Regions from separate parts of the Homo sapiens genome. Here region 2 is linked to region 1. The links are contacts of gene promoters, found by promoter capture Hi-C in blood cells and fetal thymus (Javierre and others, 2016). All regions are on one chromosome and are shown on one strand. The core of a region is centred on a gene start or on the middle of the fragment in contact, and the rest is flanking DNA. Distances in the headings are between cores, read along the strand shown.

Region 1 (5,248 bases), core at 1,291-3,790:
TGTAAACATTCTGTTCTCTAAACCACTTGTTGGGGGTTGACTCCATCCACCCTGAGAGTGTAGGTATGTGTGTAGGTAGGTAGGTAGGTAGGTGGGTGGGTAGGTAGGGGTGGTGGAAGATTGTGGTACCCTATGCTAATTTATAAAATGGCACTCTGGCCTGGCATGGTGGCTCATGCCTGTAATCCCAGCACTTTGGGAGGCCGAGGTGGGTGAATCACCTGAGGTCAGGAGTTCGAGACCAGCTTGGGTAACATGGTGAAACCCCGTTTCTACTAAAAATACAAAAAATTAGCTGGGCGTGGTGGCATGCGCCTGTAGTCCCAGCTACTTGGGAGACTGAGGCAGGACAATCACTTGAACCTGGGAGGCGGAGGCTGCAGTGAGCCAAGATCACGCCATTGCACTCCAGCTCGGGCAACAAGAGTGAAACTCTGTCTCAAAAAAAAAGGCACTCTATAGCTCTGTAGCAGAACCCCAGTGGAGGAGGGGAGAGGATGTGTCTTTTAGCCAAGTTAGTTTCTTGGAGCCTCTTTTTCCTTATTTGTAAAACTAAGTTACTTATGCTTGCCTAGCCTGACTCAGGAGGTTGTCCAGAGGGTCAGATTAGATTATACACATGAAAGTGCCTTATGAACAATGTGATATCAATATTTAATAATACAAATGATAATTATTATCGCACCCATGGCCTCCTTTCTTTCCAGCCACTTGGCATGCCCCAGTAGTTCAGGGACAAAATTGTACAGATGGGCCTACTTGGTTCAATTTTTTTTTGTTTTTGTGAGACAGGGTCTCACTCTGTCGCCCAGACTCGGCTATCTGCAACCTCTGCCTCCCAGGTTCAAGCGATTCTCCTGTCTCAGCCTTCCGAGTAGCTGGGATTACAGGTGCCCACCACCATGCCCGGCTAATTTTGTATTTTTAGTGGAGATGGAGTTTCACCATGTTGGCCAGTCTGGTCTCGAACTCCTGACCTCAGGTGATCCGCCCACCCCGGCCTCCTAAAGTACTGGGATTACATGCGTCAGCCACTGTGCCCGGCCTACTTAGAGCAATTTTTGTTAAGTGTTTTGAAATCCCTGCATGAAAATGACTAAGGAAAAAAGTGCAACCTTCTCTCTATGACACCCAAATCCTAAACTCAAGATTTGTGGTTAGTTCTGGCCAGGCCGGTGGCTCACACCTGTCATCTCCACACTTTGGGAGGCCGACGCAGGCAGATCACCTGAGGTCAGGAGTTCAAGACCAGCCTGGCCAACATGGCGAAACCCTCTCTCTACTAAAAATGCAAATATTAGACGGCCGTGGTGGCGGGAGCCTGTAATCCCAGCTACTTGCGAGGCTGAAGCACGAGAAATTGCTTGACCCCGGGAGGCAAGGTTGTAGTGAGCCGGGATCCCGCCACTGCACTCCAGCCTGGGCAACAGAGCGAGACTTTGTCTCAAAAAAAAAAAAAAAATTTTTTTTGTGTGGTTGGTTCTGTTCTCTTTGGCACCCAGCCTGCTGCTGTGTTGTATTGTACTTTGTTGCCAATCTAGCAGAAGGATTTTAGTCTAGGTAGGTCACCTTTCCTTTAAACAGGCCAAGATATCAGGCCCTCTTTACATTCACATGGAAAAGACTCACGTCATATGTTAGTAATTATTTATCAGGTTAGGAACTGTCTGGTTAGACTTTCTTTGGCCCTGGTTATTAATTCATGGAGTCATAGACCGAAAGCCCATTCTGTAAGGGTTTCAGCTAACATGAGTCCAAGTCTTCTTTCTACATATGAGGAAATTGAATCCCTGGAGAGTTTAAGTGACTTGAGCAGTGCAAGCACCGCGGTACCGGGCGTGGAATCCATTCTTTTCAGTCATCCTCTTAACTCTTCATAAAATATGTTGCAAAGACACCATAAAACCATAGAATACCACCTGGAGCATGCTCCTTAAGTTATAAAGAAAGCAAAAATCTTAAAGGAGACAGCAAAGAGTTCGGGATTCCCGTGGACGAAGACCTTTTCAGCCCTGCTGTCTTCTCCGCCCCCACCTGTCTCGCTTGCTCTCACTTCCTGGGCTACCTGACTTAGCTCCGCCCCCTCCAGGTGGCTCCACCGCTTCCTGGTAGCCCAGCTCCACCCCCCCTACCCCCCCACCCCCCTACCCCCCACCCCCCTACCCCCTCACCAAGCGGAACCAATGTCCGTCCGCTACGGGGTAGGCCGGATCTTTCTCGCTCAGACTCATCGCAGCGGTGACTCGGCAGCAGCGTCTCGCGTCATCAGTGACAGCCCCGATCCTTGCTACGTTTGCGTCGCTCTGCCAGGAGCAGTCGCCTCCTCCTTGGCAAATAGTCCTCGGCAGGGTCCGAGTTCTTGGATAATTCGAGAGAAAAGGCACGATAAGTTGCAGTACGAGGACACGGAAACGACCAGGAGAGGAGGACAGGGAGCGAAGTTTCCTCAATAGTGTGTGAAGTTAGTTAAAAACTCCCTCCTTCCTCAGGATCCCTCCGCCTGCGGTAGCGGTGGTGAGGCCGAGGGAGCCGCCATTTTGGATGTTCGGTTCCTGCTGCCACTGCTGCCGCCGCCCCCGGAGCTGCTGGTTTCATTCGAGGTTTCGGGCCGGTGAGTGTCACTCCCGGCGCTGAGAGCATATTGCTGCTTTTGCCCCGCCGCTGCCGCGGGCGCTCGACCGGAAGCTTCCTTTCAGTTTCAGGGGTCCAGTCCCAGGCTGTGGGTGTTGAGAAGAGAAGACAGAGAAGCTGGGCCAGGAGAGGCCGGGAGCCCCAGGGGCTGCTCCGACTTCTGGAGGGCCGACCCCGAGGCCTCGGACCGGGAGGTTCCGCGCGCCGCGGCGTTCCGTGTTGTGGCGTTGCCCCGCCGGTACGGGCCTCCTTGAACCCTTGACTTTCTCAGGCTGCGATCTTTGAGGGCTCATTCAGGGAGCCTGGGGTTTAGCGGGGCGGGCCCCACCCCCGCGTGTCTTCTCTGAGCCACGTATCAGCGTTCTTGTGTCTTGTACCCGTGTCAGGTCTGTCAGATAACTCCCAGCATATCCAAATGCCCAGTTAATCGCTGCCTGCCCCTGCAGTGCCGTCCTCTCGGAACCGGACATCGGCCTCGCCTCTCTCTAACCTTCCGACCAACTTCTTTCCCAATTTTTCGTGTGTGTGTGTATATGTTGTTGTTTTGTTTTTTTCAACCTACCTGCGAGTATACTGTTTACCCTTTTCTCAGCTCCTGGCCCTGCGGACGTCAGCGTCTAATAATTCTCCCGGTCTTCCTGATTGCCTGAAAGAGTCGGGACGGTTCGGTTGATTGTGTTTCCCGGTTAGGACTCGGTGTAGGAGATCCATCGAACCACTCGCTCAGGGTAATGTTTATGAAGCAGATTATGTTTATGAAGCAGATTAAATGGCTTTTGGGAGGCAAGAGCTGTCAAATGTTTTCTCATATGTGGATTCCCTCCCTGTGCTGAATACTTAGCTTTTTGGTGCTTACTGACACTTGTGTGGTATTTTTTTTTCTCCCCTATTATATATCCCTGAGCACGGAAATCTGTCCATGGAGAAAAATATTAATCTGAGGTAGGTAGAAAGGAGAGTTGGGCTGCTTTACAGTGATTAGTTAACAGAAGGGAGGAGTTAGTGCTTTCTTAGTGACCTTAACTTTGAAGTGTTTGTACAGTAATGATCTTTGCTGACTGATTCTAAAAAATACTTGTAATGATTTCATGTATTGGGTTTTTCTGGGGATAGCTGAATTTTAAATATTCACTTCCACCGTTCCCTAGAATACTTGTCAAATACCTAACTTGTCACACACCCTAACTTTCACGTTTGAAAAATATGAACCCTCTAAGTACTCGTAATCTCGTCACTTTTATTCTAAAGGCATGTTTGCAGTCTAGCATGCTTGAATAAAAAGTATGTCTTTATTTTTATTTATTTATTTTTTGAGACGAAGTCTCCCTCTGTCTCCAGGCTGGAGTGCAGTGGCACGGTCTCGGCTCACTGCAACCTACGCCTCCCGGGTTCAAGCAGTTCTCCTGCCTCAGCCTCCCAAGTAGCTGGGACTACAGGCACACGCCGCCACGCCCGGCTAATTTTTTGTTGTTGTATTTTAGTAGAGATGGGGTTTCATCATGTTGCCCAGGCAGATCTCGAACTCCTGAGCTCAGGTAATCCGCCCGCCTCGGCCTCCCAAAGTGCTAGGATTACAGGCGTGAGCCACCGTGCCTGGCAAAAAGTATTTCACAGTTATTCACTGATACATTTCCTACGTTTCAAGTTAGGCGAGTGTGATTGAATCACCCTTATTTCATCTCAGCCTGGGTTTTCACATCTGCAAAAGAGAAATTAACTTATTTGAGATCACAGTCTAGTGGTTGAAGTTTAAATTTATAACTTGAATTGAGTCAAGCTTTTTAATATTGCTAAGCCACTTATAGATGCATTATTATTATCAGGTTATTGAAATGAGATTGTAGATAAATTCCTCTATAGGTCATATGATGTCTCAGAAGAAAACAATATTTTCAGTTTAAATACTCAGTGATCTTGTTATTTAAGCAGATTTTTCAAAAATATATTAGTTACTATTAGATACGTGAGTTCTGTATTACCCTGAAGCAATGGAATTTTCTCTTTTGGTTTAAAGGAACTGTCAAACACTGAACACCTATGTAATGCTCACTCATTTAGTAAGTATGCCCTCGCAGTTACTACTGAAATGTTCCATTTCTGACTTAGACTTTTCAAGTAAGGTGTTAGAAGAGCTATCACATAGATGTTAGTTAACTCAGTGTTTTTCATGCTTTAATATATTGGTATTTAAATGTCATTCAGGCGGGCGCTCAGTGGCTCATGCTTGTAATCCCAACACTTTGGGAGGTGGAAGGTGGATCCCTTGAGCCCAGGAGTTGGAGGCCAGCCTGGGCAACCTAATGAGACTCCGTCTCTACCAAAATATTTAAAAATATTAAACTTTTAAAAATTCATTCTTAGATAGTTTGCATTCACTGTAGAAAGGGTCCTTTTGCCTTAACAAATTCCTAGCAAAGTGTTGTTTAGTGCACCATTGATCAGTGCATATTTGAATGTCTGCTTTGCGTTTAGGAAACCTCCGTTTTCTTTTGGGGGCAGTTGCTTGTTCTTTGGTCTGACCTCTGTCATTGATAGCAGTTCTAGATTTGAGGGCAGATTTTAGAGTGAAACTTTAAAGTACAGAATTTGCCAGGAATGCCTTGGTGATATTTCACCC
Region 2 (5,226 bases), core at 301-2,800, 320 kb after region 1:
AATTCATGGCTATTATAGATTGCTCTGGCTGCCTTGTATTCAGTCATTAAAAAAAAAAATGTCCACCGTTTTCACTTCCTAAATAGTTACTTAATATATCCCTCCTTAGACCTGGTCTTTCTTTCTTTTTGTTTTTTTTTGTTTTTTTGGTTTTTTTTTTTTTTGAGATGGAGTTTTGCTTTTGTCGCCCAGGCTGGAGTGCAATGGCACAATCTCGGCTCACTGCAACCTCCACCTCTCGGGTTCAAGCAATTCTCCTGCCTCAGCCTCCCGAGTAGCTGGGATTACAGGTGCCCGCCATTACGCCTGGCTAATTTTTGTATTTTTAGTAGAGACGAGGTTTCACCACGTTGACCAGGCTGGTCTCGAACTCCTGACCTCAGGTGATCTGCCCGCCTTGGCCTCCGAAAGTGCTGGGATTACAGGCGTGAGCCACCGCGCCTGGCCTGCTGACCTGGTCTTTCTTAACGTGTCTGGGTCTTTACCTCTAAGGAGGACAGCTTTTTTGTGCAAAGACCCTTTGGCAGTCTGGTGACACCTTCAAAACCAATGAACATACAATTAAACAGTTTTTTAGAATTTGTGATACAGAAATATAAGTGCAGCTTTACCAACGTGATGAAATGTAATGACAAGACTTGAGGTGGGCCCGATAACAACAAGGACAATTTCAAATTAGTGACGAGAATAGCCATATTCTGAGATCTGCATCAACTGTAATGTGATATGAAAATATCTGTGATTTCTATCGGTGACAGTCACAGATACGGCTGATACTACAGTAGTTTGTTGCCAACATAGAAGAAAATGCTAAATTTCGGTTAGAGATTAGCGAAAACAATGATATACTTTCTTTCCTATTCAAGGTCTCTGAGGATCCCCGGGTGGAAACTCCTCCCGGGAGTAAAACCACACAACCACTGAGAAGACCGCTCCGGCATCCTAGAGAGTACGCGTGTGAGCCTGGGTGCAAGGCCAAAGTAGTGACGCACTTCCGTTCACGCACCGCTTTCTGTTTTTCCTGAGGTGAGTGTTGGGGTTTGTCGCCTAGGAGTCCTTGCTAGGCTCAGGCACTGCACCTCTAGAGAAGGCTGTCGGCTTCGTCCCTGCTGCCTCAGTGGAGGGAGACAGGGCGGCCCCTCCGGGACCGGGGAGCGGAGGCTGCTCGCGGGCCGGTCCCGGTCTCCCTCTGGTGCCTTCGCTCCCCCACGCCTGCATCGGCGCCTTGGGAAATGGAGGCTGTGGATATGGGCGGCTGGATGGAAGGGACGCCTCTGTTCTCGACGCCGCCCAAACCCCATCTGCTCATTGGGCCACAGCTGCTTACTGAGCAGCTATGTGCCAGTTCCTGCTCTAGATTCCGGGGATGCAGCGGTGAATGAGGCGGGGCGTGGGCCCCGCCCCCAGGAAGCTTTCCGCCCAATGGGAAAGTCATGTATTAATCAAATCTGGTTATTTCACTCCACCTGCCCGTGACTTAGTGCACGTAGATCGAAGACCAAGTTCTTGACGTGCACAAAGTGTGGCTTTGTCCCTTGTGACTTCTTCAGCATCATCTAACAGCACACTCTCCTTTGACTGCTACTACAGTGTTCTTGATCCTTCACTACTAGAACATGGCTTTTGCGTATGCTGTTACTTTTGTAAAGATTTCCTTCATACCTTAGTTAATTTATTTTCTTAAGCTTCCCATCCACGTTAGTTTCCCCTGGCAGTGATTTAAATTGTGGACTTAAAAGTTATTTGAGAGAATCTTGATTAATGTGTCTTTCCTTTAGACTAAGCTCTGCGAGGGACAGGATCATGCCCCTTCTCTCTCTACTTCATCTGTTGTGTGTCACACGTGGCCTTGCATGAAATATGTATGAGATAAATATTTGTTGAATGAAGAAAGCACAAATCAATATATAATTTCAAACTGGATTAAGTGGTATATAGGAAAAGGAGTACGGTGCGAGTGGAGTGTTTAACAGAGACACCTGACCTGGTCTGTAGAGCGATCATGATCTGAAGGTGAAGGGTGGATAGATTACTGGAGAGAATGGCGGCTAGATTACTGGAGAGAATGGCAGGCAGAGAATCTCAGTTGTAATGGTTCTGAGATTGGAGAAGAGTAGTTCATACAGAAGAAACAGCAGGTATGAAGGTCCTGAGTTAGCACAGAGGAAACTGAAAGAAGGCCATTGTAGCTAAACTAAGAGAAAAGAGGGTGGCGGCACAAGATGAGGCTCGCAGAAAACAGCATCATGCATTAAGTCCCTGTAGGGAAGATGCTGGCTTTTTATAGAATATTGCTGTTTAACTAGAATACAAAGTGTCTGTAAGAGATGATATAGTTAAAACAATAACCCAGATGTTTTAGTGTGTTGAGTTGGCCCTTCAGGGTCCTTTGGTAATCAGTTTCTGGTTTTCATGGCCCTTGAGTGGGGCAATGAACAAAAAAGATGCCTGCTCCAGGTCCAAGTAAAGGAAGACTTGCTCTGAGATTTTTTTCCTGAGTTTTCTTGGCCATTCTTGTCTATTATTTTATGTTAACCTTAAAATCATTTTGCCAGTTCTAAAAGCATTCCTGTTAGGATTACTATTGGAAAGAATTTAGTGTAGTTATTAAAAGCAGGAGGCGGTGCCTCACGCCTGTAATCCCATCACTTTGGGAGGCCGAGGTGGGTGGATCGCTAGAGGCCAGTAGTTTGAGGACTAGTCTGGGCAATATGATGAAACCCTGTCTCTACTAAAATTACAAAAATGAGCCAGGTGTGGTGGCACATGCCTGTAATCCCAGTTACTTGAGAGGCTGAGGCAGGAGAATTGCTTGAACCTGGGAGGCCGTGGTTACAGTCAGCTGAGATCACGCCATTGCACTCCAGCCCAGGTGACAGTGAGATTCTTGTCTCAACAAACAAACAAACAGACAAAAACATGACCTTTGAAGCCTGGCAGATCTAGTGTGGGATCCGAGTTCATCCATTCACCAGCTGAGTGATCTTGGTAGAAGAAATTATTCTCTTAGCCTTGTCTTCTCATTTGGGAAAAATTAAAGGTTCAAAAGATTGTTGTGAGGACTAAATAAGAGAATATGTATTTTTCATCCAAAAGCATGATACTTGCTATTTTTAACCTTTTATATTCTCAGTCAAATTTATTTTTAAAAATAAAGGTCTGAGATTCTTCTTGTTAGGTTTCGCTCTGAGTTTATTGGTGTCTTTTGCTTGTTTTGCTCTTCATTTAGCTTGGTGTTGGTGAGGACAGGCTCTGGTGTCCTAGGACAAGTTACTTATTCTTTCAAAATCTGTTTCCTCAGAATTACAAACCTCATGGTATGATGTGGATTAAAAAGTACATATTTATGCACCACTAACCCAGTGAGCATTTAGTAAGTGAATGCTGCTTGCTATTGGCAAATTTATTGCTCTAAAGAGAGCATTTTACTGGGCTGAGCTCACTGTTGGTTCTCTCTGTTTCTTCCCTCAGCCTTTGCCTGCTAAGAGGGAGACCAGGTCATGGCAGCCATGCCTCTGAAAGCTCAATACCAGGTGAGCTGTGGATCCCTGAGGTCAGCTCTATGGAGGTCTGAGTTGAAGGAAATGAGGTGGATAAAGGTGATTCTGGCAAGTCTTAGAGCCAAAGCAGTAGGAAAACCCCTGCTGATTCCCTCCAGTAGGACTGGGTGCTGGGGAAAGAGCTAGGGGCAGTGAAGATGGAAACAGGAGAGAGTGATCTGGAAAGCTGAAGTACAGCCTCCTGAATACTGAGAATCTCTCCTGGGCCAGAGGATCCCCAGGTTCAGTAGCTGTCCCTCTGCAGAGGGAATTGTGAGAACGAGGGACTCAGGCTGGTGATGTAGGGATCCAGGATAGGATGGAAGTGACTAAGATCAGCAAGGGCACAAGGTTTTTGGGAAGTAGCAGCAGAGGGACAGCAGGAAGAAGACAAGAAAGAGGGGGCCTATCTAATTTGTCCTCCAAAAGAAAGGAGGAAGTTTGGGCTTCAGAATCAGGAAACATATGTCCTTGAGGTCAGTACTGCTGGCGAAGTGAGGCAATGGGCTGTGATAGGAAAAGTCTACACTCCCAACAGGACACCTGAAGTTAGGGATCTGTTAGGCCTCAGTGGCATCATAGCCTTGAGCCAGTCACATAATTGCTTTGCATCTTAACTGGATTCATTTGTAAGGTGAACATAAGTACCTTACATTTTTGGGACAGAGAATTGATTTCTTGAATTACATTTCACTTTTTGAGACGGAGTTGCTGCTTTGTCATTTCTTTTCTCCTGGCACTTATTTATCCAGTAACTTAGTATCCATGAACCATATCCCAAATCATAATCTCATATTTCTCACATCCTTCAGTTTTCTCTACCTGACTGTGTCACTGATATATCAGCTTCCTTGGAGCTCCCACCCTCTTCTGGTTTTTCCACAAGTGTCTGACATCACACTATATTGCAGTCCTGATCACTCAGTTTCTAAATTGCTGTGTAATTGTTGACTATGTTCTCCCCTGATACCATTTCCAGAGAGACACAAAGTCTTGTTGTTTTTCCTTCTCTCTCTGCCACTTGTGCCATCTTTCAGATTACATTTAGAGTTTGTTGTTCCTTCTCTGGAATTTTGTTTGCAGCGCTTCCCGGATAGATTCTCTGTGTATAGTTGTGCACCTTTCCATCACTTTGTCACCTAATACAGCTCAGTTTCCTGAGTTTGGATTTTATCCTCCAATCCAGGGTTCTCAGACTTCAGTGTACATCAGAATTACCTGGAGGGCTCACTGAAGTATGGACTTCTCTCAGAGTGGGGCCCAAGAATTTGCCTAACAAATTCCCAAGTGTTGCATCCGCTACTGGTGGTGGTCTGGAGACCACACTCTGAATACCACTGCTCTAGTTAGTGGTGATTCATTCAAGAGGTTCATTCAGGAGTTGATGAAGTCAGGTTGTCAGCTGGGCAGAGGATAGATTCAGTGTGGGACAAGACTGGAAGTAGAGCTAAAGTGTCCCCAGCTGTTGACCTAGTTTACTGATTGTACCACAGTGAAGAAGAGTCAGATTCCAGAAATAACGTAGGTAATAAAATTGGCAGGACTTGAGTATTAACTGTCAGCAATGAGTGATGATGGGGGTTAGAATGTCTAGGATTAATCTGAAGTTCTAGCATTAGAGACTGGGTTGAAATTGGTGTTATCAACAGAGAGGGAAAAATATTGTCACACTGCCACTTAGTTTATA

What was found. Contacts are between HindIII fragments. The CHiCAGO score rates a contact against its expected background, and 5 or more counts as called.
Region 2: a fragment that was not itself captured here is called in contact with the fragment with the promoter of AP1G1 in region 1 in 2 of 17 cell types (total B cells and total CD8 T cells); the score reaches 9.0 in total B cells.

Annotation. Positions count from the first base shown.
Region 1 is chr16:71,806,126-71,811,373 of GRCh38, reverse strand. AP1G1 (adaptor related protein complex 1 subunit gamma 1) reads left to right here and starts at 2,540. Exons shown (of 23, transcript NM_001128.6): 1 at 2,540-2,611. LOC124903714 (a long non-coding RNA gene) reads right to left here and starts at 2,416. Exons shown (of 2, transcript XR_007065110.1): 1 at 2,172-2,416. RefSeq lists enhancers at 1,489-1,568, 2,129-2,818, 2,762-3,409. The HindIII fragment of the contact is 17,673 bases long and covers 1-2,687 here.
Region 2 is chr16:71,480,389-71,485,614 of GRCh38, reverse strand. It overlaps ZNF19 (zinc finger protein 19), which reads left to right. Exons shown (of 6, transcript NM_006961.4): 2 at 867-1,026; 3 at 3,472-3,533. The coding sequence starts at 3,501. Among named protein-coding and RNA genes, the nearest start is that of ZNF19, 6.3 kb to the left of the region's middle. RefSeq lists a silencer at 991-1,270 and an enhancer at 838-1,747. The HindIII fragment of the contact is 274 bases long and covers 1,414-1,687 here.